2 separate regions of the Homo sapiens genome follow, and region 2 is linked to region 1. Evidence: promoter capture Hi-C in 16 types of primary human blood cells and fetal thymus (Javierre and others, 2016). All regions are on one chromosome and are shown on one strand. The core of a region is centred on a gene start or on the middle of the fragment in contact, and the rest is flanking DNA. Distances in the headings are between cores, read along the strand shown. Region 1 holds the start of NSMCE3 (NSE3 component of SMC5/6 complex). Region 2 overlaps DUT (deoxyuridine triphosphatase).

Region 1 (6,301 bases), core at 2,505-5,004:
GAACAATACTTTGCTTCCTTCAATCAAGTTGACACTCCACATTAATCATCACACGAACCTATGATAAAATTTAATTTACGCCAGGAGCGGTGGCTCACACCTGTAATCCTAACACTTTGGGAGGCTGAGGTGGATGGATCACTTGAGGTCAGGAGTTCGAGACCAGCCTGGCTAACATGGTGAAACCCCATCTCTATTAAAAATACAAAAAAAGCCAGACGTGGTGGTACACACCTGTAATCCTAGCTACTCGGGAGGCTGAGATGTGAGGATCTCTTGAACCCAGGAGGCGGAGGTTGCAGTGAGCCAAGATCGTGACACTGCACTCCAGCCTGGGCGACAGAGCGCAACTCCATCTCAAAAAAAAAAAAAAAAAGTTTAATTTATAAATTAGTCATAATAGAGATTAACAATAATTGATGAGAAAAATGAAATCTTAAGCCCTCCAGCTGACTGAACAGACCCCCTCTTGGCCAAGGGGACCCCGAATAACCTTGGAAACCCTCACCCGCTCTAAATGCCATTAGGCTTTCTTCCCTAAGAGCTAAACAGAAATCAGCCCTTTCAAAAGACTCCACTGCTGGTATAAACCAACCACCTGATGCTGCCCCTCCCTTTTGCAGTTTTGGCACAATTGACCAGCAGTTCTTCCTGGTAAAAGACCACCAACCATGGAGTAGTTCTGGCCAGTCTATGGAAGACATGCAGTCAGGGTTTTCATGTCCTCTACTTCACCTTTTGATGTCAGAGGGCTGAAAACTCCTACCCTGGATCATGCTAACACTGCCAATTTTGGAATATGGGTCCCAGGGAGAGACATGAAGTGCAATTGCGCATATGCACATTTCTCCTTGCATAAATGTTCATGACTCCTCCTATAGCTTATTAAATATGTATATTTGGCCACCCCATTCTGCATAGATTCCTGCTCCCTTTGCCCTCCCTTGAAGTGTCTGTTTCTGGCTTCTAGCATGAGGTTGTCTTCCTAGCCTGTTGGAATGGCCGCCCCGCAGACTGCAACCCTTTATGAGAAATAAAGCTCTTTCCAAATTTATGAACCTCGTCATCCTTCAGTTGACACTAACAATAAAGTAGAACAAATATAGTGTAATAAGTTATATTGTGGTTTCTCTTTGAAAATATCCTAATATTTTCGGACTGTGGTTGACTGCAGGTAACTGAAACCACAGAAAGTAAAACTGCAGACATGGAGATGGAGCAGCAACTACTATAATCATTGGCTGTTGTCGGTTATATTTATTGTTACTAATGTTAGTATTGTTATCACCACAGTTTCTCCCCAGACATCCATGGCTTCCAGTATCAATCCAAGGTGGAATGTGGGTCTGGATGACTTCTCCATGCAGGGCCTAAAACTTCATTCTAATACTCTTATTTTATGTCTGCATTTTCTCACCTGCATTCTTCTGGAAAGAGTGTAGAGAGATGTTTTGAGACTTAAAAACTGGTATCTCTTCTCCTCTATCTTGAGTAATGACAGTCTGCTATCTAGGTAAGCGTGCTGCTGGAGGACACTGCTGATTTTCACAGTGACAGGGGTAGTCTGACTGGTGGGCTGCTTGGTAACGTACATGAATACCTTAGCAAGAAAGAGCACTGAAAAACCAGCCCAACTGTTGACAATAGCTTTTATCTAATTTTCCACTTTCCCCTTATATCTCGGTCACTGAACTTTTTTGACTCAAGGCACTGTAGCAGGACGAGCCGCAGACAAAATCTCTCAGACACCGAGTTGCACAAGGAAGGGCTTTATTCAGCTGGGAGCATCGGCAAGCTACTGCCTTAAAATCCGAGCTCCCCAAATGCACAATTTCTGTCCCTTTAAAGAGCTCACAACACTAAAGATTTTACATGAAAGGGTCGTGATTGATCAGAGCAAGCAGGCGGTATGTGACAGGGGCTACATGCACCGGTGGTCAGAGAGAAACAGAACAGGGCAGTTCTGTTCTTTATACAATGTTCTTCTATACAATGTCTGGAATCTATGAATAACATCGGTTTCTAAGTTATGAGTTGATTTTTAACTACTGGGTTTAGGCCAGGCAGGCCCAGGCCTGGTTTTGGGCCTGGCGCTGGGCTGCCTGTATTTGGTTTTACTTCCTTGTTGTTTTTTCTTAAAACAGGTACTGAGTATAAAACAATATAAAACAATATGAGACGGTCTCTCTATTCCCTCAATACAACATCCACATCCTGCAGTAGGGACCTTTTGCAGAATTCTAGATGGCAGGAAGCTTCTATGAACCTAAGTCCAGATTTTAATTTGCAAGGAAACTGAAGCAGATGAATTTTCTCATTGTAAAAAAATGAATGCCTTGATAATATATTTGTTTTTCATAGTAGGCCTTTGTCATTAAAATTGATGCCTGAGGATATAGTTGCATCTTGTGTGGAACAGTAAGTTATTACTCATTGCATACCAGATTTTAGCATACTTGCATTAGTTCATGGAATATGATTTTACATTTACTATTGCAGTTCCAGTGCCATTATCAGATTGCATTTTCCTACTGAATTACAAACAAAAGTGTTATGCTACTAACAATTAACAAAATTTTAATAAGGTTGTGTTTGATGCTATTACTCAGATAATGTGTTCTAAATTGCTTTCCTTTGAATATATTTGCATTAAAGAGGAACTCAATTTGGTTCTTTGAAGAGTTTATCCACTTTCTGGGTAGCTTTAAAAAGACACAGGGAAATTCAGTTTCTTCTTTGCAAGTAAATAGAGAAGAAACAAATTTGCTAAGATCTGTAGAAGTCATGGCAGCAGACTGCTGATGGTTTGAGTTAATGAAATGACTCATTTTGGCTACTTGAGTTGCACAATTAAAATATACAGTAGAGACTGTATATCACATCATAGATGAGAGATAAATCCCCCAGTGTTCTCTTTTTTTTCCTCAAAGCTAATATATTATGAATTAAGAAATTTAAGAGCTCCACATTATTGCAATTCTTGATCAGTGATGCCCCAAATTAAGTAGTAATCTCTTGAGAGTGCACGTTTGTTTGCAGCATTCCTCTTACCCATTTCTGCTAAAATTGTGGTTGTGACGAAAGCAGTTGTTTTCCAAAAGATAAACCCATGTGACCAAGCTAAAACATTTACCTAATACTGACACGTTTTTTGTGGTCTTCTCATAGTTGTCTAGCTAAAGGAGTTTAATGCAGAGAATATAAATACGGAAATAGTGAAACTGAAGTCCTGCTTGCGCAGAAAGCCTGCAGCCGACTTTGGTTTTTAACAGACTCCACGGGGCATTAGAGAAAGTAACTGGGGGCAGTGGGATGGAGGGTATGAAATTGGGTGGAGGGACGAAAACTAAGAGCCCTCTGGGTCTTTTATGTCCTTCTACATTTTGTGTAGAAATAAATGTTTTTACTTTACTTCCACGGTCGGCCCTTCCTCTTCACCTTTTTTTTTTCTCACACGTTCATCCTCTGAATTCTTTCCGTTTACAAATGCTCCCGATTTAGAAACTCATAATACTGTCTGTAAAACTTGCCTGAGCCTGTGTGGTCTGAATTTAGCGACACACTTGTTTAGGAGTTTCGGTTCTCGCTCTCTGTTTGCATGGTTTGGTAACAACACTTCACTATACTAAAAATCATCGCCCGGACCTGCAGGGCTGCACGGAAAACGCTGTTCCTTTTGGTACCCGCCGCAGCCGCGCAGGCGCACCGCCCAGCCGCCCTGACGCAAGGCGCAGGCTTCATGACGCAGCACGCAGTCTCAGCCGACACTGCGCGCGCCTCCAGGCACCGGCGTTAGCGGGTCGCCGACCCGCAATCCCCGCCGCGGCTGCTTGCCTACCGGAGTGTGCGCCGGCACCTGCCGCCGGAGACATGTTGCAAAAACCGAGGAACCGGGGCCGCTCTGGCGGCCAGGCCGAGAGGGACAGAGACTGGAGCCATAGCGGAAACCCCGGGGCTTCGCGGGCCGGGGAAGACGCCCGGGTTCTCAGAGACGGCTTTGCCGAGGAGGCCCCGAGCACGTCCCGCGGGCCGGGCGGCTCGCAGGGGTCGCAGGGCCCCTCGCCTCAGGGCGCCCGCCGGGCCCAGGCCGCCCCCGCCGTGGGGCCCAGGAGCCAGAAGCAGCTGGAGCTGAAAGTGTCCGAGCTGGTGCAGTTCTTGCTGATTAAAGACCAGAAGAAGATTCCGATCAAGCGGGCCGACATACTGAAGCACGTCATCGGGGACTACAAGGACATCTTCCCCGACCTCTTCAAACGGGCCGCCGAGCGCCTCCAGTACGTCTTCGGGTATAAGCTGGTGGAACTTGAACCCAAGAGCAACACTTACATCCTCATCAACACCCTGGAGCCTGTGGAGGAGGATGCCGAGATGAGGGGTGACCAAGGCACGCCCACTACGGGCCTCCTGATGATCGTCTTAGGGCTCATCTTTATGAAGGGCAACACCATCAAGGAAACTGAAGCCTGGGACTTTCTGCGGCGCTTAGGGGTCTACCCCACCAAGAAGCATTTAATTTTCGGAGATCCAAAGAAACTCATTACTGAGGACTTTGTGCGACAGCGTTACCTGGAATACCGGCGGATACCCCACACCGACCCCGTCGACTACGAATTCCAGTGGGGCCCGCGAACCAACCTGGAAACCAGCAAGATGAAAGTTCTTAAGTTTGTGGCCAAGGTCCATAATCAAGACCCCAAGGACTGGCCAGCGCAGTACTGTGAGGCTTTGGCAGATGAGGAGAACAGGGCCAGACCTCAGCCTAGTGGCCCAGCTCCATCCTCTTGAAAGGTGGATTCAGAGGGACCCCCGGGACAAGGGTCTGAGACCCAAAGGCACAGTTTAGAGGATTGGGGGAAGGGAGAACGAACCCAGGGAGCATATTGCTGTAAACGCTTCAATGTGTGTAGCTTTAGGATGTGTTTGCAAAGTTTTGTTTTTTTAATGTTGTGTTATTTTGCTCCAGATTTTCATCTATAAACAAAGGAGCATTTGTTTTGATTTTACTCTTTTTGGTATAAAAAATTTTGCTAGCTTAGTAAAACGAATTGGAAAACTTGACTATGATCTGGAACAGATAATGCAAGAAGGAACACATAAGTAAGTTGCTTTGGTGCCAAGAAAATAAAAAAGCTATTATCAGGTCTCCTAACTACCCCAGTTTGTAAGGAAAAATAAAAGTTTTTATAAAATTAAAAAAAATAATTGCCTATATCCTTATTATGTTAACCTATTTTATTTTTCTATATTTCGTACATATATAAGTATTATTCATGGTTCCAAGCAATGAGTGTAATGTATTTTCTCCCAATAGTAATTGTTTATATTCATAATTATTCAGCTCTGCTGCTAAACACGTAGTTCCACTTCGTTTTTTTCTTCTTGCTACTGTAGTTATTACAATAAATACTGTATTTTTGAAGCACTTAAGCATTGTGTGTTTTTTAAATCGTGGGTCATGAGAGAATTTCATGACTGGAAATCAACATCTTAAAGTTTTTGCTACATATTAAGGTCAATGCTGTTTTGTAGAAGTTGTTTCACTTTTGTGTGAAACAAAATCAGGATCATGAGGTGAAATATATTTCTCACTGTGGATCTCAAAAAGGCTTATAAAACAATAGCGTAACCATTAACCATGCCTGTTTGGGAATCGGACTGTCTGGGTTGAGATCCTGGCCCCACCATAACTAGTATATGAATTTACATAGGTTCCTTAGTTTGTATGCAGATGTTTCTTGACCTGTAAAATGGTTTTAGTCCGTGATGTGGAGAATTTTATTTGTTATTCTTTAATGTTTTTATTTTTTATTCTCCTTGGTCTGGAGCTGCCACTTTTTAAATATAACTTTTCTTTATCTTTTTTTCCAAATCATTCCTAGGAGAGCAATTCCTGGTTCAAAAGATAGTCCTCTAGTCTCACTCTATTGTATGGGGAAATATAACGTGTATGGTGAGTGTGCCCCACATAGAACATAAGAGCAGGACATAAGATCTACCTCCTAGGGAGTTAGGTATAGGGAAAAGGGTATGGGTCTTGGGGCTGTCTGGCAAACTGAATTTGAATTACGGCTCATGCTAACTTGTCAGCATGGTGGTTGTGGGGGTAGGTTTTAAGCTCTCTGAATCTCAATTTATCTGTAAAATGAGAAAAATAATAGCTATATAATAGTTTTATGCACTAAATGAACTAGAAGAGTTCATAGTCCCATTGTGTTCCTCCATTACGTGTAGCAGATGCTGTTTTTAATGCAGAGATTCAACACGTTTTATTCAGTGGGCAAATAAGTTAATTGTTTTAGGG
Region 2 (6,301 bases), core at 2,450-4,949, about 19 Mb before region 1:
TCCATCAGCAATATTTGAGAATGCCCATTTCCAAAATCCTTGCCAATATTTGATGGCAACAATCTCTTACATTCTGGCCAATATGATGAGTACAAAATGGCTATCTCATTGCCTTACTTTTCATTCCCTGATGACTAGTGAGGCTGGATTTTTTTCCTCCCATTTGTTGGACATTTGCATGTCCTTGTCTATATTTTGTGTATGTTTTTTTCTCATTTGTTCTTTTTCATATAAGTTGCAAATATTTGCTTGTTGGCTTTATAGTATCTTCTAACATACAAAAACACTCCCTTTTTGAAAGGCCTCTGCTAACGTATCTGTAAAGCAGTCCTATCAGAACTACTCAAATGATTGGGTGTCTTGAATCCTGCAGATAGGTGATCTTTATGCTTGGGCCACGAAAATGTGAAAAACCTTTAAGTGACTAAAAGAAATTAAGAAGTTTGAAGTCAATTCAAATGTATGGCAGAAAAAAAGGCCCTCAATAGTTTTTTTTTTTGCATGAATGTTGACGGTATAAAAATTTCAGTAGTTCCAAATTCATTTACCACCCAATTGCCATTCGACCTCCAAGAAAAGCCTTCTCTGCCTACAGGATATAAGTATCAGGGATATTTCTCCTCAGAGAAAGCAGAAAGTAACTTGAAGTTATCACTGGAAAAATCATGCATTGGAACTGGCAGAGTGATTAACTGACTTCAGGCAAAAGTTTTACTGTGTCAAGAGTTTGGCATGTCATTTGTTGGAAACCTTTTTTAGTGAAAAACTATCCACACCTACCAGATGTGAATTCTGAACAGAATCCTGAATGCTCAACTTTTCCCTTTGACCCTTATTTAGAGCCTGGGATTTCTAACAACATCTCTCTTCAGAAATAAAAACTGTTGCCAACTATGATAAACTTGTGCCTAAGGGAGATTGTTAAGATTCTCTGCATCCAAGAACACACCACAATGTGATTTTATGAATAACACCATACCAACCACTAGGCAAACTAACTTTCCATTCTTTTACATGAATTTTTTTCCAGAAAGTTGTTTTAAACAGAGCAAAAATTAGTAACAAAGTCGAATAAAAGAAAAAGTTTCCACATAAAAACAATCTGTGAAGTCCCTAAGGACAGAAATTATATCTCACAGAATCTAATATGTGCCAAGTACTATATTAGGTATTTCATACACATTATCATTTAATCCTCCTACCTCTAGAGGCAGGCACACTAATTTCCATTGTAAAATGAGGAAACAGGCTCAGAAAGGTTAAGTAATAACTAGTTAATGACAGAGCTGGGACCTACATCCAGTTGTTATTCCAAAGCTCCCGTTCCTTGAACAATCATTTGAAACTTCATTGAAAATATATACAATTATTTATATCCTTAAGTTACTGTCCCAAAATGACCACAGTTGACCTTGTAAAAGCATTTTTGAACATCGGGCATAACTTACAGAGCCCAAGGAATCCTCAACCCAAGAGTGGGCTGTCAATGTCCACCCTGCTATGTAAAACTCAGCTCCCCTTTAGTCCCTAAAGGGTGTACTTTTGGGGTCCTGTCTTGTCCCACAGCACCACCTGGTGACACTATGGAGAGACACCACACCCACCAAATGTTAGACTAAGGGGCAGGTCTAGGATAGCCAGGTTTCATTAAGTGCTTAGTTAGCCCTTGCAGTGGCACATAAAAGTGAGCTAATTCTGGACGTGTTTAGTTGGTGAGGGGGATGCAGCAGGGTAATCTCCACAATTAATTGCAGTGGAAAGAACAAGGAGGCTGGAATCACACAGAGACTCCAGTTTTTACCACATATCCATGTGGGCTCATTTCTAAGCCAGTTTTCCTGATCTGTTAACAAGCCTCCATAAAGCAGCTCTGTAAAAACGGGTGGAGGAGGAGATCTAGCACACCTACTTATGTGGGGGCCAAGGTATCTTGTTAAGTGAAAGATTCACTACTGATGGGATAAAGGGTCAGTATGTAAGGACCACATAAGTGGGGTCTGAATCCCAGTTGGAGCGGACCTGAAACAAGGAAACCACATCAGGAAAGTAGAAATTTCCTTACAATAAGAGGAGTAGCTCTGTATCAAGAGTAGTTAGCAGAGGACACTGAGGGTTCTTCATGAAAGGTACCACATGAGGTAGGGTTAACTTTGAGACAAACATGAGAAAGGCTTTATTATAAGGGAAACAGGTAACACAGAGGACTGTCTTAACAAATTTAGAGAAAAGTGTTTTCTCTCCTGACTTCAGGGAAAGATTTTCTTCTTAAATTTTGCTAAAGACAGATAGCTCTCTTATGAAGAAAATTCTTACAAGATAGACCTGTGTTTTCTAGAACTTTTGTTGCTTAAATAATTACTTAATTATTATATCATTAAATCTGTCATTATTAATTAGGTAATCATTATTTTAAAAATTAAGTTAGTAGTTAAACAAAATATAATTACTTAAAATAACCACAAAGCTTTTCCTCCTATTATAACAAGCTTTCCTCTAATCATTTTCTTTTCTTAAAAATAAAATCTGTCATTTGAATATTACCTTTTAAAGACAAAGTAAATACTTGCAAACATTTACAGAATAAAAAAGGAAATATATTACCTCCTACATCAATAAAGTGTTTTGCAGCCAAGCCTGACCGTGGAGCTAAAAAACAAAAAAGGAGACATTGGTTATTTTAAGGGGGAAGGGCTATATCAGAGATAACTGATGCAATTTAAGCATGTCATTCTCTTCACCTATAATATCTATATCTTCATCTTAACTTTAGCACATGGTTTTGAATTAAAGAATATATATTCATCATACTGCATTACCAAAGTTGGAAAGACTAGTTTAGAAAAATTCCACAAGGTTTTAATTCAAAACTAACTTAAACCACTCCCATGTGACTTCAGTCAGAATTTGTGGTGCTGCAGACAGGGGAGAAGGACTGCTAGAATGAGCTGAAAGGTGAGCAAGCGGGAACAACTGTAGGCTGCTCTTTCAAGAAGTTAAGCCTCAAAGGGGAAGAAAGAGAAGTATGGCCAGCAGGAACACACTACTGAGGAAGAAGACTTTGGTTTTAAGATGGGACACCACAACATGTACAATGCAGATGGGAAGGGAAAGGAAGAGGAAGGGAGAGGGAAACAAACCTAACCAAATAGTAGCAGACCATAGCCTACAACTTGGGACCCCACTATTCATGATTCAGATGCCAAAAGACATGCCTGTAGGAAACACATGAACCAGAGTAAGATAAATGGGCTAATATCAGTTAAGTAAAAATGCCAAAAACTAAGTCTCAATGATTCAATGCTAGTATACTTTTTAATCCTAAAAAATGAAAAAAATAAAAAGCTAAGGTTACACCTTATTATTGCAGACTCAAGCATCAGGCCTATAATTAATTATCCTAACTTCCAGCATTTTATTTTAGAATAATTTAAATCAGGCACTTTGTCAATAATGCTGCCTCTTTCTGTACTAACCTTTATTTCACTCCATCTCCTGCCCCTTCCCCTGAAAAAATTCTAAAAAATGGAGTCAATGATGCTCAAGAGATGAGATGAGAGCCCATCTTGTTATCTTTTAAGGGCTGAAGTACTGGCAGTTTCCTCACTCATGGCTAATAATATAGTGCCAGTCTAGCTCCTTTCCCTGGAGGAGGGCGTCACAGCTCCATTGCCTCCTTTATGTTTACTCTGAAGTTAGTCAAAAAGAACTTACGCTCTTGCAAAGAACTGTCTGGTAACAACTGATCCGCTCCAGAAAAATCAAACCTGTTGACGTGTACTCCATTTTGTCCTAGCTCCTCCCAGTGCCTCTACAACACTGAAGAGTATCCCTTACCCTAACCCCATGGCCAAACAAGAAAAGGTTAAGTAGGCTTACACATTCTGGGACCAACAGGTCAGAAGTTTTACTCTCATAATATAAAATGCCATGTTCTGAGAACAGCCTTCTAGGCCAGTGTGAGCCTAAAAGCTCCAGTGAGGAAGGAGAAAAATAAAAGGGTCAAAAAGAGGCAAAGCAGAGATGTAAATAAAGCCTTTCAAAGAGTGCATTTGCTATCACAAATGGTGCTTCTTTTAGGACACAGCCCAAGCAATATTGCCTGCTTATTACCCCAAATGAAACATGAAGAATCTATCACAAAGGAGAACTTGACAAATAGTTACCTGTTTCTTAAATGACTTACCCACTCTTCCATAACACCCAGAAGGGAGCGCTATCTGAATGTCCGTTTTCACAACAGCTTTCTCCATAGGTGGTATTGTGTAATCATAGGCACTAAGAAAATATTGAAAGAAAATAACTGCAAATCTATTTATAAAATTGTTTTTATATTTTCTTTGTGACCAAGCATACAAAATTACTTTCAGTGTATTTAATGAATTAATGCAACTTTAGTTTCTAAAATCAACCTTGCTATGATGAATTACCAATTCATCTTAAAAGTTTATGAAGAAGGTAGAGGTGGCTATTTTATTATTAAAAAGACAGCTTTAGATAAAATAATTCTCCATGAATATTTTTGGTGGTGTGAAGAGATGTCAACATTGTAAATGTTTGCCCCTGAACAAAAGTTTATTGGAAACTGAGGTACTTATCAGCGTGAAAGGGCAGAAAGGCAAACTTTCAAAAGGTGGATGCTTTACAACCATAGTTTGAAAAGGAAAAAAATGAAGAAAGAACAAAGAAAAAAGGCCAAATACTACTAATAATACTAGCTATCATTGATTAAGCCTTTACTGTGTGCCAGGAACAGTTCTAATTGGTTTACATATATTAACCCATTTTATTCTCACAATGATCTGTGTGATTAGGGAAAATATGCAGAAGGAAAGGAGAAAAACGGGTGGACAAAATAAGAGATAAAGAACTGTGTTGTATCTGTCAGGCAGGGCTTGGTAGTTTACCAAGCTTAGGCTATGAATTTCCTGGCTGAGGGAGACAGCTGATCACCGTGAACGGCCCCTGGAGATGGACCTTGCTTAGGAACAGAATTCCTCTAAAGTCCACATAGCAAATGCTGCTACTCTTGATATTACTGTGGCCCTCTCCTGGGTAGAAATTTAAGAGATTTTACAATGAGCAGAACCGGAAGTTTACTTTGGAGACCTTAATTAACTCTGGTAAAGCAGTACTACCCCTTCTTTCACTGAAATCCCTCTTTAAACAGTTAAGCCCTAATTTATTGCTGATCCATTATTTCCATGTCAATTTCAGTATACAGAAAGTCACCTGTGTTTATTAGGAGTCTACTTAAGGTATCTTAAATCAAGGACTCCCCTAGGACTCAAGAAAGTGCTCCAAAATATACTTTGGAAAGGTCTAGTCAAACTATATCACTCTACTTTTATTCATCAAAATTAAGAGACTGTAGTTTTTCCAGCTACAATTGTCCATACCTACTTTCCTTTTCCTTTTTTTTCTGTTGCTATCATCAGGCACTACTTTCTCTTCTCCTGTGCTTAGACTAATAGTTCTCATGTTTGAATTATCTGAGATACTTTAAAATAAATCCCAATGCTTGGGATTTAGTATAAAATCTCCTTCCCTCTCAGCATTACTTTTCTCCTACCTTAATGGTTCTAAGAACTGGGCACAGTAGTCAGATGAAAAAAAAAAAGCCCAAAATTCGGGATAAAAAATTATATCATCTTCAAGCCTCTGGGGAAATCAATTCAGCTCTTCACAAACTCCTGCCTGTGTAAAAAGTAACACTTATCTAGTTAAGGATTGTTGTGAGGACTAAATACAACAGCATACGGAAAGTTTTTAGTACAGGTAAAACGTGCTGTAGAGATGAAAGTGTGGTAGATTACAGGCAGCTCTGCCTTTCGTTTTCAGATGCCTTCTCAAATTCCGCCCTGGGCCGGATGAATGTATAGAAAATAACTTTTTAAGGCAGATGCATCTTCGTTCATCCTTCTTAGGTATTTTCACGCTCACATCTAGGCTCTCACCTTGGTTTTTCTATTGAGCACAGCATCACCCTCGGGCCACTCGAAAGCCACCATGGGCCTTCCTCTCTATCTTCTATTTAGGAAGGGCACAATAAACGTTGCAAAGTAACGCCTTGCTAGACACCGTATAGCTATTTTACTTATTCTGCAGTCTTTGCCCAAATCTCTATTTAATTTATGCCAAAGATGAAAGCTAAAATTTTAAACACGAAAAAGGCAGAAATCCTATTTATAGCTAGTGTGTTCCTGTGATCTCTCCGGTGACTGTTTCTAGCTGTGGCAGCGGACGGCCGGCCCTTCCCAGCCTCCTCGCCGGCAGGTCCCCGCTCACCTGTACAGGTCGTAGC

What was found. The method cuts DNA at HindIII sites, captures the fragments that hold promoters and counts their contacts. A CHiCAGO score of 5 or more calls a contact.
Region 2: a fragment that was not itself captured here is called in contact with the fragment with the promoter of NSMCE3 in region 1 in 1 of 17 cell types (total CD4 T cells); the score reaches 9.7 in total CD4 T cells.

Annotation. Positions count from the first base shown.
Region 1 is chr15:29,267,275-29,273,575 of GRCh38, reverse strand. It overlaps NSMCE3 (NSE3 component of SMC5/6 complex), which reads left to right and starts at 3,754. Exons shown (of 1, transcript NM_138704.4): 1 at 3,754-6,301. The coding sequence starts at 3,871. The coding sequence ends at 4,785. All of the region lies in intron 2 of ENTREP2 (endosomal transmembrane epsin interactor 2), which reads left to right. RefSeq lists enhancers at 3,458-3,957, 3,958-4,459. The HindIII fragment of the contact is 8,019 bases long and covers 2,258-6,301 here.
Region 2 is chr15:48,332,391-48,338,691 of GRCh38, reverse strand. DUT (deoxyuridine triphosphatase) reads right to left here. Exons shown (of 7, transcript NM_001025248.2): 2 at 6,286-6,301; 3 at 4,184-4,275; 4 at 2,602-2,646. Among named protein-coding and RNA genes, the nearest start is that of DUT-AS1, 3.7 kb to the right of the region's middle. RefSeq lists a silencer at 1,606-1,675. The HindIII fragment of the contact is 2,422 bases long and covers 2,489-4,910 here.